2 separate regions of the Homo sapiens genome follow, and region 2 is linked to region 1. The links are contacts of gene promoters, found by promoter capture Hi-C in blood cells and fetal thymus (Javierre and others, 2016). All regions are on one chromosome and are shown on one strand. Each heading gives the region's core, a stretch centred on a gene start or on the middle of the fragment in contact. The rest is flanking DNA. Distances are from core to core; before and after follow the strand shown. Region 1 holds the start of RPL23 (ribosomal protein L23). Region 2 holds the start of LASP1NB (LASP1 neighbor).

Region 1 (7,694 bases), core at 3,518-6,017:
AGCCACCATGCCTGGCCAGCACATGATTTTAAGCAGTGGGAAATTATGGTCTGACCATATAGAGGCCGATGCAATAGCTTTGAAACAAAGGCAGAACGTGGAAGGCATGGGCAGAAAAATTTAGGAAACAGAGTCAAGTTGATAGACCTTGGTGACTACTTCTAGGAGCCTGGGAGAAGAGAATTAATTGTGTCCCTGTTTTTTGGTTGAGACACTGGTGGTAGTACCAACCAGGAACACTATTCCTCCTATAACCATAGCCTTCTCCATCTTGGTTGACGGCAATGATATCTTCCAATTGCTCAGGCCTAAAGACTTGGAGACATTTTGATTCCTATCTTTCATACCCCACATTTTATTGGCTCTACCTCCAAAACACATCCAGAATCTGACTACATTACATCCACTACTACCATTCTAGTCCAAACCACCATCATTTCTCTCCTGGGTTACTGCAATAGCTTCCTAATGGATCTTCTTACTTCTATCCCTGTGTCCTCTCCCACAGTGTAGTCTCAACAACTCAACCACAGTGATCCTTCTGACACATTAGTCAAATCATGTCCCTCCTCTGCTTAAAATCAAAGAATGTTTCCTCATTTCACTCAGCCAATGCCAAAGTCCACAGTGGTTTCATTCCATGACTTCCTTTTTTTGAGACAGAACTCTCGCTCTGTCACCTAGGCTGGAGTGCAATGGTGTGATCTCGGCTCACTGCAACCTCTGCCTCCCAGGTTCACATGATTCTCCCACCTCAACCCACCAAGTAGCTGGGATTACAGGCACCTGCCATCATGCATGGTTAATTTTTGTATTTTTGTAGAGACAGGGTTTCACCATGTTGGCCAGGCTGGTCTTGAACTCCTGACCTCAGGTTATCACCTGCCTTGGCCTCCTAAAGTGCTGGGATTACAGGTGTGAGCCACCGTTCCATTACTTCTGACTGCATTTCTTACTACTTTGCTCTTTACTCGTCCTGTCCAGTCACATCTGGCTTCCTTGCTGGTGCTCATTCGGTTCAGTCACACCCCTGCCTTAGGGCTTTTTATTGGAAAATGACAAAGGGTTTCTCTCTGTAGCCCAGGTTGGAGTGCAGTGGTGCAATCACGGCTCACTGCAGTCCCCAATTCCTGGGTTTAAGTGATTCTCCTGCCTCAGATTCCCATGCCACCAGCTTATTTTATTTTATTTTATTTTAAGACAGAGTCTCGCTCTGTTGCTCAGGCTGGAGTGCAGTGGCGCAATCTGGGCTCACTGCAACCTCCGCCTCCCGGCTTCAAACAATTCTCCTGTCTCAGATTCCTGGGTACTTGGGATTACAGGTTGCCCACCACCATGCCCAGCTGATTTTTGTATTTTTAGTAGAGATGGGGTTTCACCATGACGGGCAGGCTGGTCTCAAATTTCTGACCTCAGATGATCTGCCTGCCTCAGCCTCCCAAAGTGCTGGGATTACAGGCATGAGCCACTGTACCCAGCCGCCACCAGCTAATTTTTAAATGTTTTGTAGAGATGGACTCTCCCTATGTTGCCCAGGCAGGTCTCAGACTCCTGGGCTCAAGGGATCCTCCTGCTTCAACCTCCCAAATTGTTTCGGGATTATAGATGTGAGCCACTGTGCCTGGTTTCATGTCAATATCTTTTTTTTTTTTTTTTTGAGACGGAATCTTGCTCTGTCACCCAGGCTAGAGTGCACTGGCGCGATCTCGGCTCACTGCAACCTCCACCTCCTGGGTTCCAGTGATTCTCGTGCCTCAGCCTCCCGAGTAGCTGGGGACTGCAGGCACGCACCACGCCTGGCTAATTTTTTGTATTTTTAGTAGAGACAGGGTTTCGCCATGTTGCTTGGGCTGGGTCTTCAGCTCCTGAGCTGAGGCAGTCTACCAGCCTCGGCCTCCCAAAGTGCTAGAATTACCGGCATGAGCCACCATGCCTTGCTAATTTTTGTATTTTTAGTAGAGACAGAGTTTTGCTATTTAGGGCAAGCTGGTCTCTGACTCCTGACCTCAAGTAATACACCCACCTTGGCCTCCCAAAGTGATGGAATTACAGGCATGAGCCACCACACCTGGCCCCATTTTTGTTTTGTTTTGTTTTTTTTTTTTTGAGACAGAGTTTCAAACGCTCTTGTTGCCCAGGCTGGAGTGCAATGGTGCAATCTCAGCTCACTGAAACCTCCACCTCCCGGGTTTCAAGAGATTCTCCTGCCTCAGCCTCCTGAGTAGCTGGGATTACAGGCATGTGCCACCACGCCCAGCTAATTTTGTATTTTTAGTAGAGATGGGGTTTCTCCAAGTTGGTCGTCAGGCTGGTCTCAAACTCCCGACCTCAGGTGATCCGACCGCCTCGGCCTCCCAAGGCGCTGGGATTACAGGCGTGAACCACTGCGCCTGGCTAATGTTTGTATTGTTGTAGAAACGAGGTTTCACCATTTTGGCCAGGTTGGTCTCGAACTCCTGACCTCAGGTGATCTGCCCGCCTTGGCCTCCCAAAGTGCTGGGATTACAGGCGTGAGCCAGCGCGCCCGGCCGATTACCAGTTGTTTTTAATATAGATAAATACATAGAGATAGATATATCTCTATCTATCTCTATAGATATATATCTCTATAGAGATAGAGAGAGAGAGAGAGATAGATAGAGATAGATAGATAGATATCGGCCGTGGAGGTTGCGGTGAGCCAAGATCGCGCCACTGCACTCCAGCCTGGGCAACAAGAGCGAAACTCCGTCTCAAAAAAAAAAAAGAAAGAAAGAAAGAAAAGAAAGAAAAGAAAAAGAAAAAAAAACTGGTAATCAATTTATTAAAATAGTTGACTTAAGCATCTGCAATGGTGACTTCCACCTCAACTCCTGGCTCAATACTGATGGAAGTAATCTGCTTAACAATCTCAGAAGGACTGTGCAAGTCAATGAGTCACTTGTGGATTCTCATCTGGAAATGATCCCATGTCTTAGAACCTTCACCACAAAGTTTTTCTTGAAGTGATTCTCAAAGTCTTGGCAGGCATTCGAACTGGTCCTTTCACTTTGAGATTATTTTCCTTTGCTCCTCTGATCAAGTCAGCACACACCTTCTCCAGGGATTTTACGATGCGGCTCGTTAGAGTGACTCGAATTCGTGAATTGCCACCTCCGCCTCCCTGGGTGTTTTTCCGGTATCCTTAAAAGCCATGGCTGCTGCGCGGCTTCCTGAGCGACTGGTTCCTCGGCGAGGGCGAACAGCGGTGAGTCAGTAGCAGGAGCGTGCGGATCAGCGATCCGCAACACCTACGACCGCGTCTTCCTCAAAGAGCTATTTATCTATATACATTTTTGAGACGGAGTCTAGCTCTGTCGCCCAGGCTGGAGTGCAGTAGCGCGATCTCGGCTCACTGCCGCCTCTGCCTTCTGGGTTCAAGCGATTCTCCTGCCTCAGCCTCCGGAGTAGCTGGGATTACAGGCGCCCGCCACCACGCCCAGCTAATTTTTGTATTTTTAGTAGAGACGGAGTTTCCCTGTGTTGGCCAGGCTAGTCTCGATCTCCTGACCTCGTGATCCACCCGCCTCGGCCTCCCAAAGTGCTGGGATTACAAGCGTGAGCCACAAGGCCCGGCCACTATTTATATTTTACACTTGATCTTGGCCAAAAGGCCGAGAAGCGATACTATTTATATTTTTATAATACATATCCCCATCTAACATACTACATACTGCAATTACTTATTATATCTTTTGTTTAGTGTCTAATATCCTCCTCCACCTGCACCCCAGCAGAATGTAAGCTCCATAAGGAAAAGAATGTTGATCTATTTTGTTCTCTGATGTAATCCGCTGTACGCCCTGGACAGAACCTGCTGTAAAGTAGGAGCTCAATAAGTATGTGAATTAATGTATCGTGGGAAGGAAAGAACCCAGAGAATAAGGGGCGGCTGAAGCTGTGAAAGGAGCAATTAGGCCTGGCGCGGGGGCTCACGCCTGTAATCCCAGCACTTTGAGGGACCAAGGCGGGCAGATCACTTGAGATCAGAAGTTCGAGACCAGCCTGGCCAATAACATGGCGAAACCCCGTCTCTACTAAAAATACAAAAATTAGCCCAGCGTTGTGGCGGGCGCCTGTGGTCTCAGGTACTCTGAGGCTGAGACAGAGAATTGCTTGAACCCGGAAGACGGAGGTTGCAGTGAGCTGAGATCTCGCCACTATACTCCAGCCTGGGCGACAGAGTGAGACTCGGTCTCAAAAAAAGAAAAAAAGAGTGTGTGTTGGGGGGGACGGGTCAATAAATAGAGCAATACTGTATATGTAAAATACAGAATGGTATGATACCAAGAACACATAGATGGAATGATCTGCAGCACTTCTCAACTGTATTACATTCAACGAAACCGTTTAGAGCTTGTTCTCCCTCCCTCCCCCACTTTCTTTGTTCCTTGGGGAACCCCCACACGGCACAAACCGTGTTTTAATTCCTATTCTCTAGTGTGCAGATAAGTGCCTGGCACTATTAAGTGGTCAAAAGAGGTCGTGAGCAAGTTAACAAATCACTGTTTCCATGTCCCTAACTACTCTTAAGCTCGTAGAGAAGATACTTCCTATCTCTTGCGCTTCTACCTCAACTCCCACTTCGCAGAGAGGGCTAAAAGCGACGTCGTAAACTTATTACGTAATAAGGCAGCGCCCAGAGGCGGAAGAGGCCGGTTTTTGCTCCGGCCACGTGAGGAGGGTGGGCGGGGCGTTAAAGTTCATATCCCAGTGTCCTTTGAATCGACTTCCTTTTTTCTTTTTTCCGGCGTTCAAGATGTCGAAGCGAGGTGAGGTTTTGTTTCTGGAGGATCCTCCACCATCTGTCGTGCAGTGGCTGGCGGATTCGTCAGGAGCGGTGGCCCTAGGCAGCTGGGGCGCTTTGCTCTCCTTCAGGCCGGAGAGAGAGAGCCAGGCCACCGCGAGAGCACTGCCAGGGCCCTCGAAAGTGGCAGTGGGGTGCTGGAGAGTTGAGATGGCAGGATCCCGACGTGAATGTAGTCTGGATACCGCGAGATCGCTCCGCGAATAGGGCTATCGTAATGGGGTTGAAGTTAGACTGGATTAGGCCCTGGTTTGCGCGACCTCTGCGGTTTTATGCCTTGCAGGAGTAATTGCGTTTTGCGAAAGTTAGAGCAAGGGTTGAGTCGTCTAGGTTTCTTAATTTCGATGTCAGAGTGTTAATAGTAAGAAATAGGCTACTTTCCGTGAGAATCGGGTGGCACATGGGGACGGCATAAGTAAAATCCGAGCGAGCTAATCTATAGCGTACAGTCTATCAAAGCATGTGCGGTGAATTACAGCTTGAGTATGAGGGGGAACTCCGAACCATGTCTAGATTGTGATCTCTTTATCCTGTTTCCCTTCCCTTTATATCCACAGGACGTGGTGGGTCCTCTGGTGCGAAATTCCGGATTTCCTTGGGTCTTCCGGTAGGAGCTGTAATCAATTGTGCTGACAACACAGGTGAGGTCTTTGCACGTTGCTATACTCCCCCTTTTAAAAGCACTCAATGGGCCTGTGGCTAATGACCTATTGAGCCGTCAAGAAAGGGGAGAGTGAAAACATCGCTTTTGGGTGAAGTGGCAACATGTGTTGTTTGCTTCAATCGGTGGTGTGACAAGGCGTTCTTGCGGACTAACTGCTTGGGCAGTGAGTGGAGGGAGGGGCTTTGGAAGTGTTTGGGAAATGTTATACTGATGGAACGGCCTGATGGCCCTCAACATTTTTTATTTTTATTTACATTCTTTTGTAGGAGCCAAAAACCTGTATATCATCTCCGTGAAGGGGATCAAGGGACGGCTGAACAGACTTCCCGCTGCTGGTGTGGGTGACATGGTGATGGCCACAGTCAAGAAAGGCAAACCAGAGCTCAGAAAAAAGGGTGAGTAAACACTGAGCCCACCTTAATACTGATGAGTAGTGGGGGGACGCTTTCCTTTATTGGAAAATGGATCAGTTTTCAAGGCCTCAAGTTTGTTTTCCATTGAGAGGCAGTGTGAGATAAGTATCTTAAGTTTTTGCTCATATTGTGTTGGAGGGGGGACCATCATCTTGTCACTTCCATACCTTAGTTGTTTTTTTGTTGTTGTTTTTGTTTTGTTTTGTTTTGTTTTTTGAGATGGAGTCTCTCTCTGTCGCCCAGCCCATACTGGAGTGCAATGGCACGATCTTGGCTCACTGCAACCTCCGCCTCCTGGGCTCTCAAAAAAAAATATATTACAAAACGAAAACAAGCTGCCCGTTGCTTATTTTATTATTTGTTTTTGAGATGGAGTCTCACTTGTTGCCCAGGCTGGAGTGCAGTGGCACATATCTGTTCACTGCAACCTCCACCTCCCGGGCTCAAGAGATTGTCCTGCCTCAGCCTCCCGAGTAGCTGGGATCATAGGTGTGCACCACCACACCCGGCTAATTGCTCATTACTTAATCTCAGGCTCCCCACTCAAAATTTTTCCTGTCAGGTGTATGATTTAAAGGGGGAGGCCTCAAAATACTTGCAGCTTGTGTCCTGTCTGGCTTTAGAACTTCTGGTGTTTGGTGCATTTTAACTTCAGCGCTTGCACTTTTTTCCTGTGCCTGCCTAATCTGTCTCTACCCTGGGATGTCTTGCTCTTCTAAAGAGTTCCTGGCCATCCCTTGATTTACAAATGTGATGTTGATTTGTCAGCCCTGTATTACAGTTACTCCTATTCCTGTATCCACCCCACGATGCTGTCCAGTAGATTTTTAGCCTTTGGGTTAGAAATTGTTTTTTGTTCACCATTAATATCCATTTGAGGGCTGGGTAGCACTGTGATTGTGATTCAGCAATTGCATGGGCTTTTTCCTCTTCTCAGAACACTTCCTGGGTCTGATTGGTGGCCCAGGGAGCTGTCAGAGAAGAGCAGAGCAAATGGCCTTCACTTTGTAGATGAGATGGCAGGAGGGTGGATTGTTGGTCTCAGTCAGTGGTGGGACAGACCAGAGCTCCGAACACTTCAGTTTTAAAACTAGTTGTGAGTTTCCAATTCTGTTAATGTCTTTTTTGGTCCTTGTTTCTGCTAAATGAATACATCCCCTCCCCTTGGAACTTAATATCAATAAATAACAAGCACAGAAATATGCAAAAGGACCAGGTCTACTTGAAGAATTTGTGAGGATTAAATGGTTTATGAGTAGAGGAGGGTCAGTCAGTAAGTATTGGCTACCTCATGTGTGTCCCATTACTAACTTGGTTAGACTTATCTATTTTTTGTGTAGTCTTCCTGTCATAAAAATTCTGTGTAAGGACCCCATGCTAGTATCAGTGAAGATTGTGAATCCAGGTGTGTCTGACTCTACAATAGTTCTTCACAAGCATTATATTTCACTGTGTAGTGATACTTCATTTTGAAAGTTGGGAAAAGCGTCTTTTTCACTTTAGTACAGATGGGTATAAAAGTTACTTAGGACACTAGAAAACAGTTCATTAAAAGTAAAACAAAGCCTGGTGCTTGGGCCCAGGAATTCAAACTGTTTTCCAGTGTAAATCTGAATAGCTTGGTCTCTGCTCATTGCCAGGACTGGGAGGAGTTGGGGGTCCCAGGTCCCATTTCTACATCCCAATTCAGTGATACTGGGATCTTAATAACCTACCTGTAAGGTGAAGTTGGAAAAGGCATAGGCAAGGATAGTTGTCCTGAGAGTTTTACACTTGTGAGAAAATACTGGCA
Region 2 (7,694 bases), core at 1,421-3,920, 75 kb before region 1:
GTGAGGAGCGCCTCTTCCCGGCCGCCATCCCATCTAGGAAGTGAGGAGCGTCTCTGCCCGGCCGCCCATCGTCTGAGATGTGGGGAGCGCCTCTGCCCCGCCGCCCCGTCTGGGATGTGAGGAGCGCCTCTGCCCGGCCACGGCCCCGTCTGGGAGGTGAGGAGCGTCTCTGCCCAGCCGCCCCGTCTGAGAAGTGAGGAGACCCTCTGCCTGGCAACCGCCCCGTCTGAGAAGTGAGGAGCCCCTCCGCCCGGCAGCCGCCCCGTCAGAGAAGTGAGGAGCCCTTCCGCCCAGCAGCCACCCCGTCTGGGAAGTGAGGAGCGTCTCCGCCCGGCAGCCACCCCGTCCGGGAGGGAGGTGGGGGGGTCAGCCCCCCCGCCCGGCCAGCCGCCCCGTCCGGGAGGGAGGTGGGGGGGTCAGCCCCCCACCCGGCCAGCCGCCCCGTCCGGGAGGTGAGGGGCGCCTCTGCCCGGCCGCCCCTACTGGGAAGTGAGGAGCCCCTCTGCCTGGCCAGCCGCCCTGTCCGGGAGGGAGGTAGGGGGGGTCAACCCCCTGCCCGGCCAGCCGCCCCGTCCAGGAGGTGAGGGGCGCCTCTGCCCGGCCGCCCCTGCTGGGAAGTGAGGAGCCCCTCTGCCCGGCCACCACCCCGTCTGGGAGGTGTGCCCAGCGGCTCATTGAGAACGGGCCATGATGACAGTGGCGGTTTTGTGGAATAGAAAGGGGGGAAAGGTGGGGAAAAGATTGAGAAATCGTATGGTTGCCGTGTCTGTCTAGAAAGAGGTAGACATGGGAGACTTTTCATTTTGTTCTGTACTAAGAAAAATTCTTCTGCCTTGGGATCCTGTTGATCTGTGACCTTACCCCCAACCCTGTGCTCTCTGAAACATGTGCTGTGTCCACTCAGGGTTGAATGGATTAAGGGCGGTGCAAGATGTGCTTTGTTAAACAGATGCTTGAAGGCAGCATGCTCGTTAAGAGTCATCACCACTCCCTAATCTCAAGTACCCAGGGACACAAACACTGCGGAAGGCCGCAGGGTCCTCTGCCTAGGAAAACCAGAGACCTTTGTTCACTTGTTTATCTGCTGACCTTCCCTCCACTATTGTCCTATGACCCTGCCAAATCCCCCTCTGCGAGAAACACCCAAGAATGATCAATAAAAAATAAAAAATAAAAAATAAAAAAAAAAATAATAATAATAATAAAAGAAAACAAAAAAAAAAGAAGAGGCCACTCTAGGCTTTGAAAATATCTATAGTTTGATAAAGCCAAAGCATGTAATTTACAAAGACAATTTTCCACTTCAGTTGTACTTCGATGCCTAAGGAAAAGTCCCATTATTTTTGAGTAATTTAAAATCAAAATGATATTTTGGCCAGGCACGGTGGCTCACACCTGTAATCCCAGCACTTTGGGAGGCTGAGGCAGGCAGATAGCCTGAGGTCAGGAGTTCCAAACCAACCTGGCCAACATGATGAAAACCTGTCTCTACTTTAAAAAATACAAAAATTAGCCAGGCATGGGGATGCACACCTGTGCTCCCAGCCACTCGGAAGGCTGAGGCAGGAGAATCGCTTGAACCCAGGAGGCGGAGGTTGCAGTGAGCCAAGATTGTGCCATTGCACTCCAGCCTGGGTGACAAGAGCGAAACTCTGTCTCAAAAACCAAAAAATAAAATAAATAAAATACATCATTCTTCCCCACAAACCCCCTGTTTTCATCAAGAAAGCAGGTATTAGTGTAATGATTCTTAGCATTGTCACTTGATTTTTTTCTAAGTAATTTATAATTCTTCAGAGTGGTTTTTATCTCATTGACATTTTATTGGACAAAATTACCCTATGACACAAATTTATAAAATTTATACAAAATCTTATATTACAGAGGTAACTTTTTGCAGTGTTTTATTATGTTTTGGGATGCCAAAATACAAATAGTTTAAATGTAAAATTTAAACAACTATCAAAATAACACAGTAAAACCCTGTTATAAGCTAGCATATTGTTGCATAAATATAAGCACAAAGTCATATAATTTTTCCAAAATGTATTGATTTATTTTTTTAAAATCATATTTTACAAGTAACTGAAGAGATGGGTAATCCTCTCTCCTTACATTGTACCCAATACCAGTGGTATATATCACCAGTGTATGAGTGAAATCTGCTGATTTTTTTTCACTGAATTGATTAGTTGTTTCAACTTTATGTGAATACAGACTGAGAAGCCTTGATGTCACAAAAGACCAGAGCAAGCTTGGTTAGACTATACTTTAAAGATCTATACCATCATAACTAACTCTAATTTGGACCCCTCCAAAATACTGGCGCATGCCTGAATTACCTAGGTAAGGATGTAGAGCTGCTGTCTTGGCTTGAAGACGGAAATTATAGTTCGAAACACTAAGATATACCAGAGTTAGAAGAATGTTTTAGTGGAAAATGTCACATCAAGGACTCCACTGAAGATCATTTCTAAATATATCCAGGTTCACAGCCATGCTGCTTGCATCCATGTATGTCAGATTACCTATCTTTTTGCTACATACCACGATGCAGTATCATACTTGTTAATATTCCTTAAACAGTTTAGGCAAATTATCACAGACATAATATATATTTGGAGTAAATAAATATGGCCATTTTCTCATCAAAATCTGGCTGTTGGTGAAAAAAAAAGAGTTTTGCAGTTAAATTTTTGTTATAAAGTGTCATGTTGGGAAGAATATTCAGAAAAGGGGGACTACCAGTGAACTATTAAGAGTTCGTTCCATGGGAATTCTGTTCTCGATGTAGTTTCCAAAGAGATAATGCGACCTTGGCCTAACACTTTCATTTGACAGAATAAACAGAGGACCTAAAGTTTATGTATTTATTTATTTTTATTTTATTTTTTATTTTTGTGGAGACGGGGGTCTCGCTATATTGCCTGGGCTGGTCTGGAATTCTTGGCCTCAAGCTATCCTCCTGCTTCTACTTCCCTAAATGCTGGGATTATAGGCATGCGCCATAGCACCTGGCCTAGCCCTAAAGTTTAAATGACTTATGAAAGGTCAGGTCATATAATTTGTTGCCAAAACAAAGCTTCCAGAATAGTGTTTTTTCTTGTCCATAATTTTTATGTTTTTATTATTATTTTTTTTTGAGATGGGGTCTTGCTGTGTCACCTAGGCTGGAGTGCAGAGGTGTGATCTCGGCTCACTGCAACCTCTGCCTCCCAGGTTCAAGCGATTCTCCTGCCTCAGCCTCCTGAGTAGCTGGGATTACAGGCACCTGCCACCACACCAGCTAATTTTTGTATTTTTAGTAGAGACAGGGTTTCACCACGTTGGTCAGACTGGTCTCAAACTCCCGACCTCAAGTGATCCTCCTGCCTGAGCCTCCCAAAGTGCTGGGATTCCAGGCGTGAGCCACCGTGCCCGGCCTTGTCCATAATTTTTAAACACAACTTTTCCATTTCAGTTGTGACATATAATGCCTCAATTTTTGTTTTAAAACATGGAAATTGGACACAATGTTATTACTAAAAACTAATCTTTCTCCTTGTTTATTTATTTATTTATTTTATTTTATTTGAGACGGAATCTCGCTATGTCTCCCAGGCTGGAGTGCAGTGACATGATGTCGGCTCACTACAACCTCTGCCTCCCGGGTTCAAGCAATTCTTCGGCCTCAGCCTCCCGGGTAGCTGGGACTACAGGCGCGCACTACTGTGCCTGACTAATTTTTGTATTTTTAGTAGAGACGGGGTTTCACCGTGTTGGCCAGGCTGGTCTCCAACTCCTGACCTCAGGTGATCCATCCGCCTCGGCCTCCCAGAGTGCTGGGATTACAGGCATGAGCCACCACTCCTGACTCTCCTTGTTTACTTTTAAGCAAGAAAGGAAAATTAAATGTAGAACAATTATGATAGACTTGTAAAAGGAATAAACACCCCAGATTTGCAGGCCAATTCTACTCTGAATCCCAAAATACATAGTTTCTTCAACTCTAATGGGTCAGAGAACTATGTGGAAAGTTTTTTCCAGAAAAGATCTTTGATTAAAACACACACACACACACACACGCACACACACACACACACACACACTCATTTTGGGGTAAGAGATTTTTCCTAAATAAGTATAGCCATCTTGTTTCTATCATTTATAATTCAATCAGGTGCAAAGAGAGGACTATATAACCATTTCTCCCTTTAAATGAGAAACTGGGATACAAGTGGTTTGAGGTGGGGAAGAAATGATACATTTTAAAAACTCAAATGACAAGTTCTTCCTGGCTGGAGAGTGAGACAAGAGAAACCACAAAACCCCAGACTGTGCAATCTGTAAAGACAGTGATAAAGTGACTACTTCATAGATGAAGATGGACAACTTGAACTTCCCCTTGAGTTTCACAAGGGAGTCCTGTGTGTGAGAAGGAAGGAACATATTTGAGTGTAATGTGCAGTTGCATTTAGATCTAAGGAAACTTAAAATGAATTTAAGTTTCCTTAATTCAAAATGAATTTTTGAGCAGTTCTCCACGGTAACTTTAATAAGTCTCCATTTCAACTTTCTGTTCTCAATCCCATCTACAGCTCAAACATATGCAGTATCTGCCAGCCCTGTCCATGAATTCCTGAAGTCCCAGCCAAGTGCCTCTCAGCTCAAAAAGCCCCTTGCTTGCCAGGGGTCAGCCATGTCTGGAAGGCTCTGAAAGAGGTCTGCTGGGCAGTAGGACTGCTTCTGTGGATGAGAGGCCTCTTGTTGGACTGGAGAGACCAGGAGCTGTAAGAAACCCAGAAATAAAAAGTCTCAGATGGGGACAACTGCAAAGTACCAGGAGTTCCTCCCTCCTCTCCACCATATCCCACAGTTGGACATCTCCCCGAAAACCCCACCCCAAGTAAAATTTATTTGCCGTCTCACCCTCAAATAAGAATGAGTCAATCATTAAGTAATGCAATTATACAAGCATAGTTGTAAACAACTATATTGCAAGTATGCTGACATGCAAAGATGTGTTTTACCTTTAATTACCAGAAGAAAATAGACAACTTGAGTTTGAGCACCTAACTTGAAGAAGAAATTAGGAAATAATAGTCCCTCCCCACCACATCCATCATTCCCAACCCGTTCTGCCTAAAAATCGTTTACATTGTGGATTTTATTTGTAATTTTTAAAGTCTTATTTTAAATTAGGTCCCAAAGAAAGAAGCTGGCATTTCTTATTCTTTTCAGAGTGGTCTAAGAAAAAAAATAGGAAAGCAAACTCTTTCTTTTTTTCTTTTCTTTTTTTTTTGGAATCAATACCCGAGATAACAGCAGAAGCAAAAATCCACCGGTGCGTCAGCAAGCAGGGCACTCGGCCATTCATCTCCATCCTTCCTTCTGAGCTGTTCTCCAGCAGGCTCCGGCCGCAGCTCCAGGCCACTAGAGCAGATAGATAATGTAGGACAGAATGACCAGGCCTATGATGGCAAAGAACATCAGGATGAAAATATCCAGCATTGTGGATTCCTAGGCCGACCAAGCCCCTGGATTCTGGTGAACCGTGAGCTGTGAGCACGGAGGTTGCAGTCGGTGGAGAGAAATGGCTCCCCTTCACTCCACAGCTCAGCCCTGGTTCTTTCCCCTCCCCCTCCCAGGGGCCTGAGACTGAAGGATGCTGCAGCTCCACCAGCAGCTTCCTGCCCCCCCACCAACCACAGCCAACCAATCACAAAGCCTGGGGGTGGATAGCCAAGGAGATGCCAGATTTAGACCCACAGAACCGCAGAATCAAAGGGGCTCAATTTCTCCCCAGGAACCCAATCCCACCCCTTTGTATCTAAATGGAGCCTGCATGCTCTGGATGTAGGAGGAGATAGGATCCTACCCAGCTCCCCCAAGAGTGAATCCTCCTGACTGCCTTCTTCGCGTTTCCTCTCACACACCTCGGGCAGATTATCTCAGAAAAATCATGGTTGGGTATTGGGTGGGCCATTGGCAACTTCTAAAGGTCACATTATGGGGAGACACAGACAAAAGTTTCGTGTGGATCTCAGTGGGCTTCCCTGAGGGATGAAGCTAACATTTATACATTTCCTACACTGGGCCAGATATCGTACATGTGGTGCAATTTCAACCTCCCTATGAGTCTTTCATAGATGGGGCTCAGAGATGGTCAGAAACTTACCCTAATGGTTCATAGCTTAGATGTGTCAGAGACCAGCCGGGCGCAGTGGCTCATGCCTATAATCCCAGCACTTTGGGAGGCCGAGGCAGGTGGATCACAAGGTCAGGAGTTCAAGACCAGCCTGGCCAAGATGGTGAAACCCTGTCTCTACTAAAAATACAAAAGTTAGCCAGGCTTGGTGGTGCATGCCTGTAATCCCAGCTACTTGGGAGGCTGAGGCAGAGAATTGCTTGAACCCGGGAGGCAGAGCTGAGATCGCGCCACTGCACCCCAGCCTGGGCTACAGAGCAAGATTCTGTCTCAAAAAAAAAATAAAAATAAAAATTAGCCGGGCGTGGTGGCAGGTGCCTGTTATCCCAGCTATTCAAGAGGCTGAGGCTAAAGAATTGCTTGAACCCGGCAGGCAGAGGTCGCAGTGAGCTGAGACCGTGCCATTGCACTCCAGCCTGGGTGACAGAGCGAGACTCCGTCTCAAAAATAAATAAATTAATAAATAAAATAAAAAGTAAAAGGCTGGGTGTGGTGGCTCATGCCTGTAATCCCAACACTTTGGGAGGCTGAGGTAGGTGAATCACCTGAGGTCAGGAGTTCAAGACCAGCCTGACCAACATGGAGAAACTCCAGCTCTACTAAAAATACAAAATTAGCTGGGCATGGTGGCACATGCCTGTAATCCCAGCTACTCAGGAGGCTGAGGCAGGAGAATCGCTTGAACCTGGGAGGTGGAGGTTGCAGTGAGCTGAGATTGTGCCATTGCACTCCAGCCTGGGCAACAAGAGTGAAACTCCGTCTCAAAATAATTAATTAATTAATTAAAAATGTCAGAGACCAGGATTCAAAACTAGGCATGCTGACACCAAAGTCCATATTCTTCCTCTTGCGCCACACTGCTCCCCCTGTTGGTCCGGAAGGCCCCTACACCCCACGTGCACTGCTCAGCTTGCAGTGGACTGCTTTCACATCGATCCACCTACAGGACGAGCACCAGAGACCCCTCCTCCACCCACTCCTTCGTCTCTTTGCAGTCATTACCCACTGTTTTGTTTTCCTTCTTTCTTTTTTTATAGAGACGGGGTCTTGCCATTTTGCCCAGGCTGGTCTCAAACTCCTGGACTCAAGCGATCCTCCCACCTCAGCCTCCCAAAGTGCTGGGATTGCAGGTGTGAACCACCGCACCCGGCCTAGTTTTGTTTTCTTTGGTATCCTCTTCCAAAAGCTCAGCATAGTGTTGTACACAGAGAGGACACTGAAGAATTCCCCAGGGGTATCCCTGAAATTTAAAAAATTCAAGTGGTTTCTTCTGAGGGGGAAAAGAGAATTATTTTATTCTTTTTATTTATTTATTTATTTATTTATTTATTTATTTATTTATTTATTCTTAGACGGAGTCTTGCTCTGTCACCCAGGCTGGAGTGCAGTGGCACGATCTCAGCTCAGTGCAAGCTCTGCCTCCCGGGTTCACGCCATTCTCCTGCCTCAGCCTCCCGAGTAGCTGGGACTACAGGCACCCGCCACCGCGCCCAGCTTATTTTTTGTA

What was found. The method cuts DNA at HindIII sites, captures the fragments that hold promoters and counts their contacts. A CHiCAGO score of 5 or more calls a contact.
Region 2: a contact is called between a fragment that was not itself captured here and the fragment with the promoter of RPL23 in region 1, in 4 of 17 cell types (activated CD4 T cells, total CD4 T cells, total CD8 T cells and 1 more). The highest score is 6.1, in activated CD4 T cells.

Annotation. Positions count from the first base shown.
Region 1 is chr17:38,850,794-38,858,487 of GRCh38, reverse strand. RPL23 (ribosomal protein L23) reads left to right here and starts at 4,767. Exons shown (of 5, transcript NM_000978.4): 1 at 4,767-4,790; 2 at 5,383-5,466; 3 at 5,756-5,884. The coding sequence starts at 4,778. SNORA21 (small nucleolar RNA, H/ACA box 21) reads left to right here and starts at 5,493; the gene lies at 5,493-5,625. It overlaps SNORA21B (small nucleolar RNA, H/ACA box 21B), which reads left to right and starts at 6,830; the gene lies at 6,830-6,964. It also overlaps the pseudogene RPS20P35. RefSeq lists enhancers at 4,514-4,623, 4,347-5,130, 4,621-5,820, 5,131-5,914. The HindIII fragment of the contact is 31,460 bases long and covers 1-7,694 here.
Region 2 is chr17:38,923,490-38,931,183 of GRCh38, reverse strand. It overlaps LASP1NB (LASP1 neighbor), which reads right to left and starts at 5,570. Exons shown (of 2, transcript NM_001414697.1): 1 at 5,293-5,570; 2 at 1,803-4,767. The coding sequence starts at 5,490. The coding sequence ends at 5,413. RefSeq lists enhancers at 399-945, 946-1,491. The HindIII fragment of the contact is 828 bases long and covers 2,257-3,084 here.